Linked DNA regions of Homo sapiens: regions 2, 3 and 4 are each linked to region 1. Evidence: promoter capture Hi-C in 16 types of primary human blood cells and fetal thymus (Javierre and others, 2016). All regions are on one chromosome and are shown on one strand. Each heading gives the region's core, a stretch centred on a gene start or on the middle of the fragment in contact. The rest is flanking DNA. Distances are from core to core; before and after follow the strand shown.

Region 1 (3,415 bases), core at 634-3,133:
GTCTGAAGACGGCTTGCACCAGAGCCCTCCGTGGCTGAAGGGAGAAGCTAGGGGGTGAGTCAGCCCCAGGGCTTGATGGAACAGACAGGAACTAGATGATCTAGGAAGGGAGAAATGAGGCTGAGCAGGAGACAGCCCAGGCTCCCTGGCTGCCACTACCTAATCTGTCCCCCTTCACACACATCCCACACACAGTGTTTAGACAGAGCAGCAGAGAAGAAACAGACATCCTGGATCCCACAGGGAGCAGGCTGGGGCTGGGAACAGGAGGTCTGTTTATTCCTGGAAGTCACATATCAGAAGGGTCCCACACCCACTTCTGTCCAGGCCCCAGGCTGAACTCTCCCAGAGCCTGTGACTTCTGCCCGACCAGATCCCGTGGTTCTGAGGACCGGCCCTGGAACCCTGCGTCCTTCCGACCCACCAGCTCCCTCGAGGATGGACTTGAGGCTGGATGCTTTCCTCTTCCCACTTTTTGTCCCAACAGAAGTCCCTGATCTCCAGGATCCCTGACTGGCTGTGCAGAGCTGGCACAGCCACACTCCACGGGCTTCCAGCCCTTCAGGCCCAGCTCTCCCGGAGAGCACCAGAGTCCCTTTGCTCCATTTACTTGCGCTCTTCAGCCAGCAAGTGTTTCCTAATGTCTCACCCCCAGTCCCAGCTTTCCTGCTGCAATTTCCGCCTGTTCCCTCCCATTTCAGGCCTTAAGGGAGTGTGGCTGGGCTTCTCTCCTCCCCCTCACTCCAAAGCCGCACTTGATACAAGGTGGAAATCAAAGCACCACTTCTGGCTTCCCAGCCTTGAACTTGCCCTTCCCTCTCAATGTATCTGGTTTCCTCAGCTTCCCTGTGCAGCAAGAGTGTCACTCCCCTCTTGCTTTTCCCAAGCTCCCCATGCGCCCCTCTCAGCAGATCTGTCTTAGAGGGGCCAGGTGCAGAGAAAGGCAGAAATCCTAATAATGTTCCCAGCGATCGCTGCCTGTCGCGGAGTGCTGAAGGGCCAAGTGTTGATCTGAGTCCTCATCACACGGGACTTCATTTAGTCTCACGATAGGTGAGTACAACTATGGGCCCCATTTGACAGATGAGGAAACTAAGGCAAGGGAACTTTAGTCATTTGCCCAAGTTCACTGGCTTTTTTAAAAAAGGATCCAGACAGCTCTGATTCCAGCGCCAGCTCATGCCTCTTCATCATGGGGGAGGAAAGAGAGGGAGCCATTTGTTGGGGCAAACCCCCACCCATCAAGGGCCATGCACTGGGGTATATGCCGCCATATGTGTTATCCTGTGATATTCCCCACCACGACCTTAATTAGAGGTGGTTTTTCTTGTTCCCATTTTAACACAGGCAAAAACCGAGGCCCAGTAGTACCTTACCCATGGTCACATCCCCAGAGCCATTTGTCCCTCATAGTTCAGAACTTGACTCAGAAAGCAGTTGAGAAAAGTGTGGAATGACCCCAGATTCAGGAAGGCAAGTCTGGCCTTAGAAACTGAAAGGCCCATCAGGTGATGGGATGGGGGAGTGAAGATCCTCAGGCCCCAAACACCTGCCACTGCCACCATCACACACGGAAGTGTGGAGGGAGCCTGGTGTGCTGTCAGCTGGCTGGCCAGTCCAGGGGCTTAAATGTAAATGCATCAGCTGAGGCGGGAAGTCGGGAGGGGTAAGTCAATCATTATTATTCATTAACTGGAATGCATTTCTCAGATTACTCCGAGCTGGAGTAGGGAAACTGCCACCTAGGTGGCAGGGGGAGAGGGGAACTGGGTGGGAGGGGGAGGCAGGCCTCCCAGTTGCTGCAGTTTGGAATATGTCAGGTCCCACCCTCCCAGAGGCGGGGCCAGGGCTGAGTCCTGCCAGCCTCATTTCTCTATCCCTCTGAGAACCCAGACGGGCAGAGCCTGGGTAGGAGAGCCTGGCCCCGCTGTCCCCACTGGGTGGAGACACCATGCACTTGGTCCACTTGTGCTCTTCAGCCAGGACACCAGACATGGTCCAAACCGCTGCAGGGCTGGCTGCAGCAACTCCCTGACACTCAGGAAGGCCCAGGCTGGGCAGGCAATACCTGCTCCCAACAGCCATGTGAGTAGCTACTCCCCCAAACCCCCAAACCCCAGATCCTGGAGAGGCTACTACACCCAGCCCAAGCCACCAGACCCTCGGGGGTGTGCAGGTGGTACAGCCTGCACCCTGCTGGGAAATCACCCCTGGGGGCTGCTCCCTGCCTTTGTCGCTGTTCTAGTGGAGGTGGGTTGGGGGGAATCATTCCGATTAGGGCTGGGAGCTCCAGCTCAGGCCAGGTTTGGGGTAATGGACCCTGAGTCTCACGGGACTTAAGAGAGTTGATGATGCCCTGGGAAAGGGAACAGAAACTGCAAGGCCTCTAGAGAGGAAAAGACATCCTGGGTGGAGGGCACTGGAAGAGATTGAGAAAGAGAAAACATGCTTAGGGGAGGGGAAAGGGGGCATAAGGCCTTGGAGGCCCAGGCTCAGGGTGCTGGGGGAACCTGGGAAGGAAGGGGAGCATCTTCCTTCCTCTCAGCTCAGGGCAGCCATGGGGCCCTGATCCCCTGTCCTGGAGGAGGGGAGAGGTATGAATCCTTTCCTTATTGACTTGGATCCTAGCAACAGCAGCTGCTCCCCTGTTGACAGAAGCAGGAGTTCCCACAGGACCCAGGACCCCTCCCCCTGTCCCCAGGATGTGGCAGCAGAGCCATGACACTGGAGGACTGAGACCAGGGAATGACGGGAAGGACAGGGACAGATGAGAGCCACAGAGAAGCCAGACTCTGCCCAGACTCCTCTTCCCTCTCCTCTGGGCTCAGCCTCAGGCCTGGGGGTGTGGGGGAGTCCCTCTCCTTGCTGCTGGCATCTCCACGTTCACTGCCACACGTGCCCTCCAGCTGCTTCTCTCCTCCCTCCAGCTCCCAGGAAGGACCCTGTTGCTAGTGTGGAGCAAAGACGAGTCAAGTTTATGGGCTGGAAGTCCTACCCGGAGGCTGCTCACTGAGCTGTGATGGCTACAAGGACAGATGGGGGGAAGGGTGCAGGGTGCCCGAGACCTGGCCCGCTGGAGCCTGTCACCTAATGGCTGGCTGGAAGACCACTACACACCAGCCAGCCCTGGTCCATTCTCTCATTTAGAGGCCTCCCCGGTGGAGGCAGGGATACACAAAATGCTTTGGGGCTGGATGGGCCCGCCTTTCAGTCTAAACAAGAGACCTCAACACAGCTGCCCAGAAAAGGCAGATACCAGAAATGGATAAAGCTGGCTGGGTGGGGACTGTCCGAAGGGCAGCCAGCAGTGAGCTCCGGCTGGTTGCTACCACACAGGACATATGTGTTGCCAGACCTGAATTTTCAATAGAAACCAAAGATAGTTTTTTATATAAATGTTTAATTGGCAATTAAT
Region 2 (3,415 bases), core at 365-2,864, 320 kb after region 1:
TCTATGGAAAAGAAATGGGTTTTTGGGTTTTTTTGTTTGTTTTTCTTTTTTTTTTTTTTTTGAGACGGAATCTCGCTCTGTCGCCCAGACTAGAGTGCAATGGTGCAATCCCGGCTCACTGCAACCTCTGCCTCCCGGGTTGAAGTGGTTCTCCTGCCTCAGCCTCCTGAGTAGCTGGGATTATAGGCCTGCATCACCATGCCTGGCTTTTTTTTTTTTAATTTTTAGTAGATACGGAGTTTCACCATGTTGGTCAGGCTGATCTTGAACTCCTGACCTCGTGATCCACCCACCTTGGCCTCCCAAAATGTTGAGATTACAGGCATGAGCCACCATGCCTGGCCTGGAAAGGAAATGTTGAAGGTATAACAGCTGTAGTATTAAAGGTGGGTACACTTGTACATTAAAGAATAGATAACTGAAGTTCAGTTCAAACCAGAATGGTCACTGGTGGCTAATTAACTGATATGGTACAATAACAATACCAAAATACCTAGGTAGTGGCATGATCATCCATTAAAGTATTGCCCCAAATTCCTAACAATTAGATTAACTTTTCAACTCTTAAGTAAATTCACATTCCATCTCTATTGCATTTAGCCAAGAAACTGATCTTTGTTATGGGAACGTTTTTCTATGTAAAAGTTTTACAAATAATGTAAATGGAAAATTGTAGCCAGGTGCAGTGGGTCATGCTTGTAATCCCAGCAGTTTGGCAGACTGAGTTAGGAGGATTGCTTGAGCCCAGGAGTTTGAGACCAACCTGGGCAACATGGCGAAACACCATTTCTACAAAAAATACAAAAATTAGCCAGGCTTGGTGGTACACTCCTGTAATCCCAGCTACTTGGGAAGCTGAAGTAGGAGGATCAATTGAGCCCAGGAGGTGGAGGCTGCAGTGAGCCATGATCATGCCACTGCACTCTGCCTGGATGACAGAGTGAGACCCTGTCTCAAAAAAAAAGAAAAAAAATGTAAATGGAATTGTATTGAGTAAATCATTACTTTTTGACAGATAGTGCATATATTCACTGCTGTTTATACATATCCCCACCCATTGATTCATGTCCTTACCATGTTACTACCTAACCAAATTCAAACTTCTTTATGAGTCACCGTGGTTGACTTAACACTTTCTGGCCAGTGATCTCATCACTGTAACTTAAAGCAGGATGCTAGCAAAATTATAAAAATTTGAGTATCCCTCAACTGATAGCCTCAGTAGCTGGAGAATATAAGAGGAAGTGTAGATGACTACATTTGCCTCCACAGAAATCTTCCTAGGCCGGGCGCAGTGGCTCACGCCTGAAATCCCAGCACTTTGGGAGGCCGAGACGGGCAGATCACGAGGTCAGCAGATCGAGACCATCCTGGCTAACACGGTGAAACCCCATCTCTACTAAAAATACAAAAAATTAGCTGGGCGTGGTGGCAGGCGCCTGTAGTCCCAGCTACTCTGGAGGCTGAGGCAGGAGAATGGTGTGAACCTGGGAGGCAGAGCTTGCAGTGAGTCAAGATCGTGCCACTGCACTCCAGCCCGGGTAACAGAGCGAGACTCCGTCTCAAAAAAAAAAATCTTCCTAGAGACAAATGTAGAAATGTGAGTCTCAAAAAAAAAAATCTTCCTAGAGACAAATGTAGAAATGTCTTAGCTAGTCTCAGCCAAGTAAGTTTGTGATGAAAGGATATGAGCATTATTTCTGCTCCCTCTTTGATGACTGAGTTCTTAAAAGATGCACAGAATTAAGAGCTATTTTATTTGCCTTTTTTTTTTTTTGCTTTATTACCATGGGAATTAATTTTTAGTTATTCCTTATTCATCTGATGCTGATTTCCATTTTTTAGGAAATTGTAAATATTTATCCATCTATCAACCCACCCACCTTGACAGCACACCAGTCTAACAGAGTTTGCAATGCTCTGGCATTACTGCAATGTGTAGCATCACATCCAGAAACCAGGTAAATGCTTTGGGTGAGTCACTTGGGGGAGATATACATTGAATATGGTCCTAAACGTTCTCTGAATAATAAAAGGAAGGGCATGGAGGAGAGAGAGAGAGAACGTTTGTGTGTGTGTGTGTGTGTGTGTGTGTGTGTGTGTGTGTGTCTCTCTCTCTCTCTCTCTCTCTCTCTCTCTCTCTCTCTCTCTCTCTCTCTCTCCTGGTCTTCCGGATTCTTATTTACTTTTACCCAATGAACTTTAAAGAAACAGTGTTCACATTACAGGAAAGGTATCAGGCATACAGCTACTTCTCACTCCCTGACCTGTTATTGACACTATGTCATCTGTGAGGCATAGTGCATGGCATATAAGAGGAGTTTAGTAATTATTTTTCCAGCACTTTTCCCACACTGAACCCAGATTTGACTTCAGAATCCTTCTTAACATAGCATTCTGGGCGGCCTCTATAATAGACGAGAATTGGCATGTAAGTTAAAATATTTTTGCCACCTGTCATATCTAAAAAATTAAGAAAAGGGAAATCCTGTTCAGGAATCTACTTTGTGGGCTTTTATGGCCCCAAAGGCACTTAATAGTCATCTTATTAAAGCCTTTCCTCTTTGTCAAGTTTCCTTATGAAATATGTATGCTAGGTTGGCACTGACCTTACACAGCTTTAGAGAAATTACTAAGAAAATTACTTTTAAGCACTTAACAAAAACACAAGAGTACTTTGAGTGTTAAAAATCTTGGGCGTTGGCTCTTCTACAAGGTGTAACTATAAATAATATAAAATAATAGACTGATTTCCTTATTAGTTGCCTGACTAAACTGTTTTCAGAATGGTTTGTGTATCTGAAATGCCCTAACAAAAAAAGAAGAATGTGCTTATTAAAGTATAGCAGGTAAGCCTGATAATGGCTGCTTTGTTTTGTTGTATTGGTTTGTAAGGTTTATTCGACTGCACCTGTGAATACTATTATTCAGTCATAGGTGAGGGAGATAATCTAGGACAATCTCTTGGACACTTAATAGCATTTTGTGGTCTATTTTTTAAAATCCACAATTGGATATTTTAAGTTAATCAGTTTGTAAGGTACTTTTTGCTGATTACAGGGAAAATCATGTGTTTTCTTAACCACTGTGATCTGGACTAGGGTTTTCAGCTTTGGCACCATTACCATTTGGGGCTGGATGAATCTTTGTGATGGAAAGGAGAGGGCAGGAGAGGACTGTCCTGTGCATTGTAGGATGTTTAATGGCATCTCTGGCCTCTTCCCACTGGATGCCAATAGTGCTTCATAATCCTGAGTTGTGACAATCAAAGATGTCTCCAGACATTGCCACATGTCCTCCAGGGGGCAAAATTTACCCCATTTGAGAACCATTGGTTGAGACTAATGACCAGTAACATTGTTTTCCTAAGGATTCCTTGCTCTGACAATGTTAAGGCCTTACAGAATTAACCACC
Region 3 (3,415 bases), core at 438-2,937, 300 kb after region 1:
ATGAATTGACAGCTACATTTGCTCATTCATTATATTATCAGGGCTTGCTCTACTTGGTTAAGAGTAAAAAACTAAGTTTCTTTTTCAGCATGAAGCATGATCCAGTAACAGTTAAACTTCCTATGAACCTAAGACAAAGACAGGGTTTCCTTAAACTCGGTAATGGTAATTGTCTTATTAAAGCAAAAAAATAAGAAGACAAAAGATAATTAAAATGAATTATTCTTTAAATATGTCCAGAGATTCTTTCTCTAAATTTCTTCACAATTATTAAAATTACTGTTCAACTTTGAGCATCACCATGAATGCTCAAAGCAACAATATTAGCAAAAATGTTTCTATGCCCTGTACATTTATTTAAGTGCTCACATTTTAGGTACTGCTTTGAAAACATCCTTAATCAGAGAGCATTCAGTGGTAAATAAAGTATGGCCAAAACACAAAAACTATTACTACAAAACAAACACAAAACTGTCAGTTCCCGCCAGATTGCATGCTCTTTGAAACATATATCCAAAACAAAAACATTACTTACTTTTCAGTGACTTTTACCGAAAAACCCTATGTAATAGCAATTCACCTTTATTCTGATCCTTGTGCCAAAGGCAAAGCACTCTTCTTGGGACACTACTCATATTCTGCAGCTATGCCAGTTCTCCGGAAGCCATCAACTCAGCTAAAGAAAATAAAAATGTGCTTTTTAAAAAGAACCCAATATACAAAATTAATACTTAAAAGAAAGTGGGCTGGGCACGGTGGCTGACGCGAGTAATCCCAGCACTTTGAGAGGTGGAGGCGGGCAGATAACCTGAGGTCAGGAGTTCGAGACCAGCCTGACCAACATGGAGAAACCCCGTCTCTACTAAAAATACAAAATTAGCTGGGCGTGGCAGTGCATGTCTGTAATCCCAGCTACTCGGGAGGCTGAGGCAGGAGAATTGCTTGAACCCAGGAGGTGGAGGTTGCAGTGAGCAGAGATCACGCCATTGCACTCCAACCTGGGCAACAAGAGCAAAACTCCATCTCAAAAAAAAAAAAAAAGGAAAGTGATCGTTTATACAACAAAGATTAACTTCTTGGTTATTTAAAAACTACAGATTACCTTAATGAAAATATTTAAAATATGATGCACAACACACAGAGACACACATAAAAGATCAACAGAACTTTAGGAACTTATCTGCTGTGCATAATGAGGGATTACAGGATGAGCCTGCACCTTGTTCAACTTGTACCTTGGTTTATTCATTCTTGCTACATTTTGAAACTAAGAAGTCAGTGAGAAAGAATATGTCCTTTGTTCACTTTATAAACATTGTTACATAATAATGTCTTAAGTCTTAAAACTTCCATAACATGTTGATACTATTTCAAAAGGTGGGTAAACTTGGTGCTTTCACTTTTCTTTCAAAGCTAACATTGTTTCTCAAATTAGGCTTCACTAGGCCTGAACTTTCTCTGAAGTTCTACCCGCACATCTCTCACTGCCTATCTGAATGCTACAACATCAACTTTAAACTCCTTTGTTCATTTAGTAAACAACATTTATTAAGCTACTGCACTTTCAAGGCACCCTGGTAGGCATATAGATGTGAAGATGATACAGTCCATGCCCTCATTAAGAAGCTCCTAGAGGCCAGGCACGGTGGCTCACACCTGTAATCCCAGCACTTTGGGAGGCAGAGACAGGCAGATCACCTGAGGTCAGGAGTTCGAGACCAGCCTGGCCAATGTGGTCTCGAACACATTGAGACCACAATGTGTTCTCACTAAAAATACAAAATTTAGCTGGGTGTGGTGGCACACACCTGTAGTTCCAGCTACTTGGAAGGCTGAGGCAGGAGAGTCATTTGAACCTGGGAGGCAAAGGTTGCAGGGAGCAGAGATCACACCACTACACTCCAGCCTGGGTGAGGGAGCAAGACTCCGTCTCAAAAGAAAGAAAAAAAAAGAAGCTCCCAGACTTCCCTACTTTTGTCCTTCTACCATCATTCAGGCAAGAAATCTTGGCATCAGCTTTATCCTCACTCTTATCTACTCAAATCCCAGATTTTCAATAGCTACTACTCTCAGAAACTCATCACTATGCCATCATCCCACCTAGTATTTATTATGCAACCCAACATTTATTATGCAACATTTACTAAGCAGTGCTAAATGCCATACATGCATTATCTCAATTTAATTTTTAAAATAATCCTAAGTGATAGGGATATTATCTCTATTTCACAGATGAGGAAACTGAGGTTTAGAGACATTACATAATTTATAAATACAGTCAGTGAGAAACAAAGCTATGTCTAATGCCAGAACCTACATTTTTAACTACAACCACAGTTCATCCTCATCAATGAATTATGGCAACCCCTTCCCTTTCCAGTCTCAGCTCTTGGGGTTTTACCTCCAACAAATCCTTTACATTGTAACATCCTTTCTAAAGAACTACTCTTTTTACCACTTTTCAACTGAACTATGCACTAGGTATCTTCTTAACTTTCTCCCTAAGGTGGGAGTGGGGGGTAGAGGTGGGGCACGGGACAGGGAGGTAACACACAGAACTTGGGTACTCTAACTGTATACTCCAACAAAATAACAAACACTTGTTAAGTGCTAAATGGTTGCCATTGATGCTAGGACCTTCCCAAACTAAATAGCTCATCACTACCTAGAAAATAAAATAAATCCAAATGCTTGTGTTTGGTATTCATACACCTCCATTTTAAATTCCCTATTTTTCAACACGAATCCTGTTCTACACATACAAAAATTATTATATTTTAATATTTTCTTTCTTTTTCATTTGAGACAGAACCTCATTCTGTCACCCAGACTGGAACACAGTGGTGCCATCTTGGCTCACTGCAACCTCCACCTCCTAGGCTGAAGCAATCCTCCCACCTCAGCCTCCCAAGTAGCTAGGACTACAGGCACATGCCACCAAACCCGGCTAATTTTTGTAATTTTTTATAGACATGGGGTTTTGCCATGTTGCCCAGGCTGGTATCGAACTCCGGGGCTCAAGCGATCCGCCCACCTTGGTCTCCCGCAATGCTGGGATTACTGGCATGAGCCAATGCAGCTGGCCATATATTAATATTTTCTTTGTCATTCACCAACAACTGACTTAAATATGGAATTTTGCTTTATTTATGGAAATCTCATCTTCACTGGTCTTAAAGATTAACCGGTTGTTAAAATATACAAACCACTACTCTGATTTTTGAAGGCTTTCTTTCCTTTAAAAAGACCTATAAAACAAATGGACAAAGGAGAAAAAATTAGTTTTGTTACTGAAAGTGGAAAGCTGACCTAAAGTTTATCTCCAATTCAAAGAGTTTAAAATCTGAATGGTTTTATGATATAAAAATGGGTAAAAGAATCCAAAGTTGGAAAACGTTTTGTTTTTTCTCATGTG
Region 4 (3,415 bases), core at 602-3,101, 280 kb after region 1:
GCCGATATTGTGCCACTGCACTCCAACCTGGGCGACAGAGCAAGACTCCGTCTCAAAAAATATATATAAATAAATAAAAATAAAAAGAATGTACAGATGGGTTAGGTTTTTATTTCTAATCTAATAAATATATAATAAATGAGCACCTTATTTATTGTAAGATCAAACACTTACCTGATGTCCTATTCTCTTCTGACTGTTTCAAACTCAGCTGCTTTTCTCTACTGCTGGTTAAATACTTTCTGGAGGGATCTGTCATGGCCTTGTTGTTCCTATAGTTAATAATTTTACATCAATATAGTACAGGTGTATAAAAATATTGTTCTTAATTTTAAATAGTTGTCATTAAAACATTTACATTTAAAGTGCCAAATTCATTGATATGCTTGAAAATTAAGCTACAAGATTGTTAGTCTCAAAAGGTCAATGACTTAAACAAATGAAAATTACAAAAATAATCTTTAATTACTATCTCAAGAGCCAATCCAATCCATGACTCTGATAACTTAGCAAAAGTAAAGGAGCATTTTTCTTTATATAAAAGTCAAATCAGAGACAGCAAGATTATTAGATTTTCTTGGCCAAAAGCAAGACCAGATAAAATGATTCAGCTACTAAGACCAAAAGAATCAATTAAAAAGTAAACTGTGGCCAGGCGCGGTGGCTCACTCCTGTAATCCCAGCACTTTGGGAGGCTGAGGCGGGCAGATCGCGAGGTCAGGAGTTCGAGACCAGCCTGGCCAACATAGTGAAACCCCGTCTCAACTAAAAATACAAAAATTAGCCAAGCATGGTGGCGCGTTCCTGTAGTCCCAGCTACTCGGGAGGCTGTGAGGCAGGAGAATCACTTGAACCTGGGAGGTGGAGGTTGCAGTGAGCCGTGATCGCGCCACTGCACTCCAGCTTGGGCAACAGAGTGAGTCTTAGTCTTAAAAAAAAAAAAAAGTACAATGTTCAAGCTTGGCAGTTTATAGGTTTACAAAGAAAAACAAATCAGGCTGGGCGCGGTGGCTCAAGCCTTAATCCTAGCAGCTTGGGAGGGCGAGGCGGGCGGATCACCTGAGGTTGGGAGTTCGAGACCAGCCTGGCCAACGTGGGAAACCCCATCTCTATTAAAAATACAAAAATTAGCTGGGAGTGGGCTGGATGCAGTGGCTCACACCTGTAATCCCAGCACTTTGGGAGGCCGAGGCAGGTGAATCATGAGGTCAGGAGATCAAGACCATCCTGGTTAACACAGTGAAACCCTGTCTCTACTAAAAATACAATAATTAGCTGGGCGTGGTGGCGGGCACCTGTAGTCCCATCTACGCAGGAGGCTGAGGTGGGAGAATGGCGTGAACCCGGGAGGCGGAGCTTGCAGTGAGCCAAGATCGCGCCACTGCACTCCAGCCTGGGTGACAGAGCGAGACTCTGTCTCAAAAAAAAAAAAATTAGCCAGGCGTGGTGGCAGGCGTCTGTGATCCCAGCTATTCAGGAGGCTGAGGCAGAAGTATTGCTTGAACCCAGAGGCAGAGGTTGCAGTGAGCCAGGGATCACGCCATTGCACTCCAGAATGGGTGACAAGAGCGAGACTTCATCTCAAAAAAAAAAAAAAAAAAAAAAAAAGGAAAAGAAAAATCAAAATCAAAACTGTGTATTCCACATGAATAGCAATACTATTTGCTAAGCAGCAACAGCATTTTAATTTATATTGATTAAAATTCTTTAGGATCATGAATACAAAGTTAAAATTTCTTTTAAAAGCCCTTTTCTCCCCTGTATTATTTTCAAATACCTCAACCCATATAAGTAGAGAGTGTCCATTCAAATAAATGTTCATGCTTTAACAGTGCTAATTTAAGGGGAACCATCATGAACTAAGCCTGTGGCAGACAATGCCTAAGTGTGCCCCACCTAGATTCCCACTGACTCATTTTTATATTCTCTCTTCCATATCTTCACACCAACTTATGTTTTTGATAGCCAGTACCAAGGGCTCTTCTTCACAGGACTGCCCTCAAGTTACTAGAGATACTTTGCCTGTAATCTCAGAGTCACAAACAAGGCCGGGCGCTACAGTAGAGAAGCCCAGCTCTCCTGATTTGGATTAAAACAACTTTATGGTGGAAGCTACATAACAGATTTCTGTAATATCAGGATGAAGACTAACCTTCATGTCCTTGTGTGACTTCTCCAGGATCACATCCATGCTTTGTTTCCTGCCCTTAACTATATTGCTTTCCTTACTCCCTTCACTATCTTCTCTGGGAGTACTTCCTTAGTAATTCACATGCACACTAATCTCCATTTCAGATTCTGCTTCTGGGGAACATAATCTACAACAGCTGGTACTAAAAGTGGGCCTAGGAAGCACACTCTAAGGATAGGATTCTGGAATTGGACCCTTGTTTGGCAATGGCAACAGAAATTCTGTTGCTGATAGTAATACCTCTGACATCTTATAGTGTTACAATTGCTAAGATTTTCACCTATGGTGAATTAGGATGAAATAAGGTAGAGAAGGATAGGGCTCACGCAGTATCTCCAGTATTTTAGAAATGTGGTAGAATGATTACACAATAGATCGTATTGGGGTAATGGAAATGTTCTGAAACTAGATAATGATGACGTAATATAACTAAAAAAATTTACTAAAAATCATTGACTTATATACCCTTAAAATGGGTCAATTACATGGTATGTAAATTGTAGCTTAATAAAGTTGTTTTTAAAATGTCGCAAATTATTTCACTCCCTATATTCAAGCTTCTAATCAATAAATTCAGTCTATTTCTTCATCCCTTAATGGGGCTAGTCCTGTGATTTCCTTTTCCCAAAACAATGTGACAGAAGTTAACAGTGTGTGAGTTCTGACCCTAAGTCTAAAGGTGCCCTGCAGGTTTCCACTCACTCTCTTGGAACCCTGCCACTGCTATGTGAATAATCCCAGGCTAGCCTGTTAACAGTGGAAGACACATGGCCCAATCACGCCCACCACTCAATGGCCAGTTATATGAGTGAGGCCATCCTAGACCAGTCAAACTCTAGCCAAACCATCTACTGACTACAGAGGCGTAACAAAATTAGAATCCAGGTACTATGAGCCAAACTGGGCCCAGATAAACAGAACCACCCAGGTGACCATAAATTCATAAGCAAAAATGAATAGTTACTATTTCAAGTCACTAAATTTTGGAGTGGTTTGGATACAGCAACAGATAAGATGTAGGTGATATCAGGTAAATAATCATCAAAAAGACTATGGAATTGACTGGTTGATGCTGAGTATTTATGTGTTCAAGAGAGAAGACAGGCTCAGTTGAGCCAATTACCAACTTAAAGGACAAAGACAATGTGTAGAGTCACCCACAGGAGAGTTGCAGCCCAGACCTTGTAAAGCAAGACCATGCTGTCTGCAGCCAAAAATTATACC

Evidence for each region. The method cuts DNA at HindIII sites, captures the fragments that hold promoters and counts their contacts. A CHiCAGO score of 5 or more calls a contact.
Region 2: a contact is called between a fragment that was not itself captured here and the fragment with the promoter of GPBAR1 in region 1, in 7 of 17 cell types (neutrophils, monocytes, naive CD8 T cells and 4 more). The highest score is 10.3, in neutrophils.
Region 3: a fragment that was not itself captured here is called in contact with the fragment with the promoter of GPBAR1 in region 1 in 12 of 17 cell types (neutrophils, total CD4 T cells, non-activated CD4 T cells and 9 more); the score reaches 11.2 in neutrophils.
Region 4: a fragment that was not itself captured here is called in contact with the fragment with the promoter of GPBAR1 in region 1 in 1 of 17 cell types (neutrophils); the score reaches 7.6 in neutrophils.

What each region holds. Positions count from the first base shown.
Region 1 is chr2:218,259,132-218,262,546 of GRCh38, forward strand. GPBAR1 (G protein-coupled bile acid receptor 1) reads left to right here and starts at 1,884. Exons shown (of 2, transcript NM_170699.3): 1 at 1,884-2,085. RefSeq lists an enhancer at 2,331-3,136. The HindIII fragment of the contact is 11,967 bases long and covers 1-3,415 here.
Region 2 is chr2:218,581,126-218,584,540 of GRCh38, forward strand. It overlaps CNOT9 (CCR4-NOT transcription complex subunit 9), which reads left to right. Exons shown (of 8, transcript NM_005444.3): 3 at 1,846-1,961. Among named protein-coding and RNA genes, the nearest start is that of CNOT9, 14 kb to the left of the region's middle. The HindIII fragment of the contact is 8,800 bases long and covers 1-3,415 here.
Region 3 is chr2:218,562,138-218,565,552 of GRCh38, forward strand. USP37 (ubiquitin specific peptidase 37) reads right to left here. Exons shown (of 26, transcript NM_020935.3): 2 at 536-676. Among named protein-coding and RNA genes, the nearest start is that of USP37, 4.5 kb to the right of the region's middle. The HindIII fragment of the contact is 3,573 bases long and covers 1-3,415 here.
Region 4 is chr2:218,534,435-218,537,849 of GRCh38, forward strand. USP37 (ubiquitin specific peptidase 37) reads right to left here. Exons shown (of 26, transcript NM_020935.3): 9 at 175-272. Among named protein-coding and RNA genes, the nearest start is that of USP37, 32 kb to the right of the region's middle. The HindIII fragment of the contact is 1,789 bases long and covers 958-2,746 here.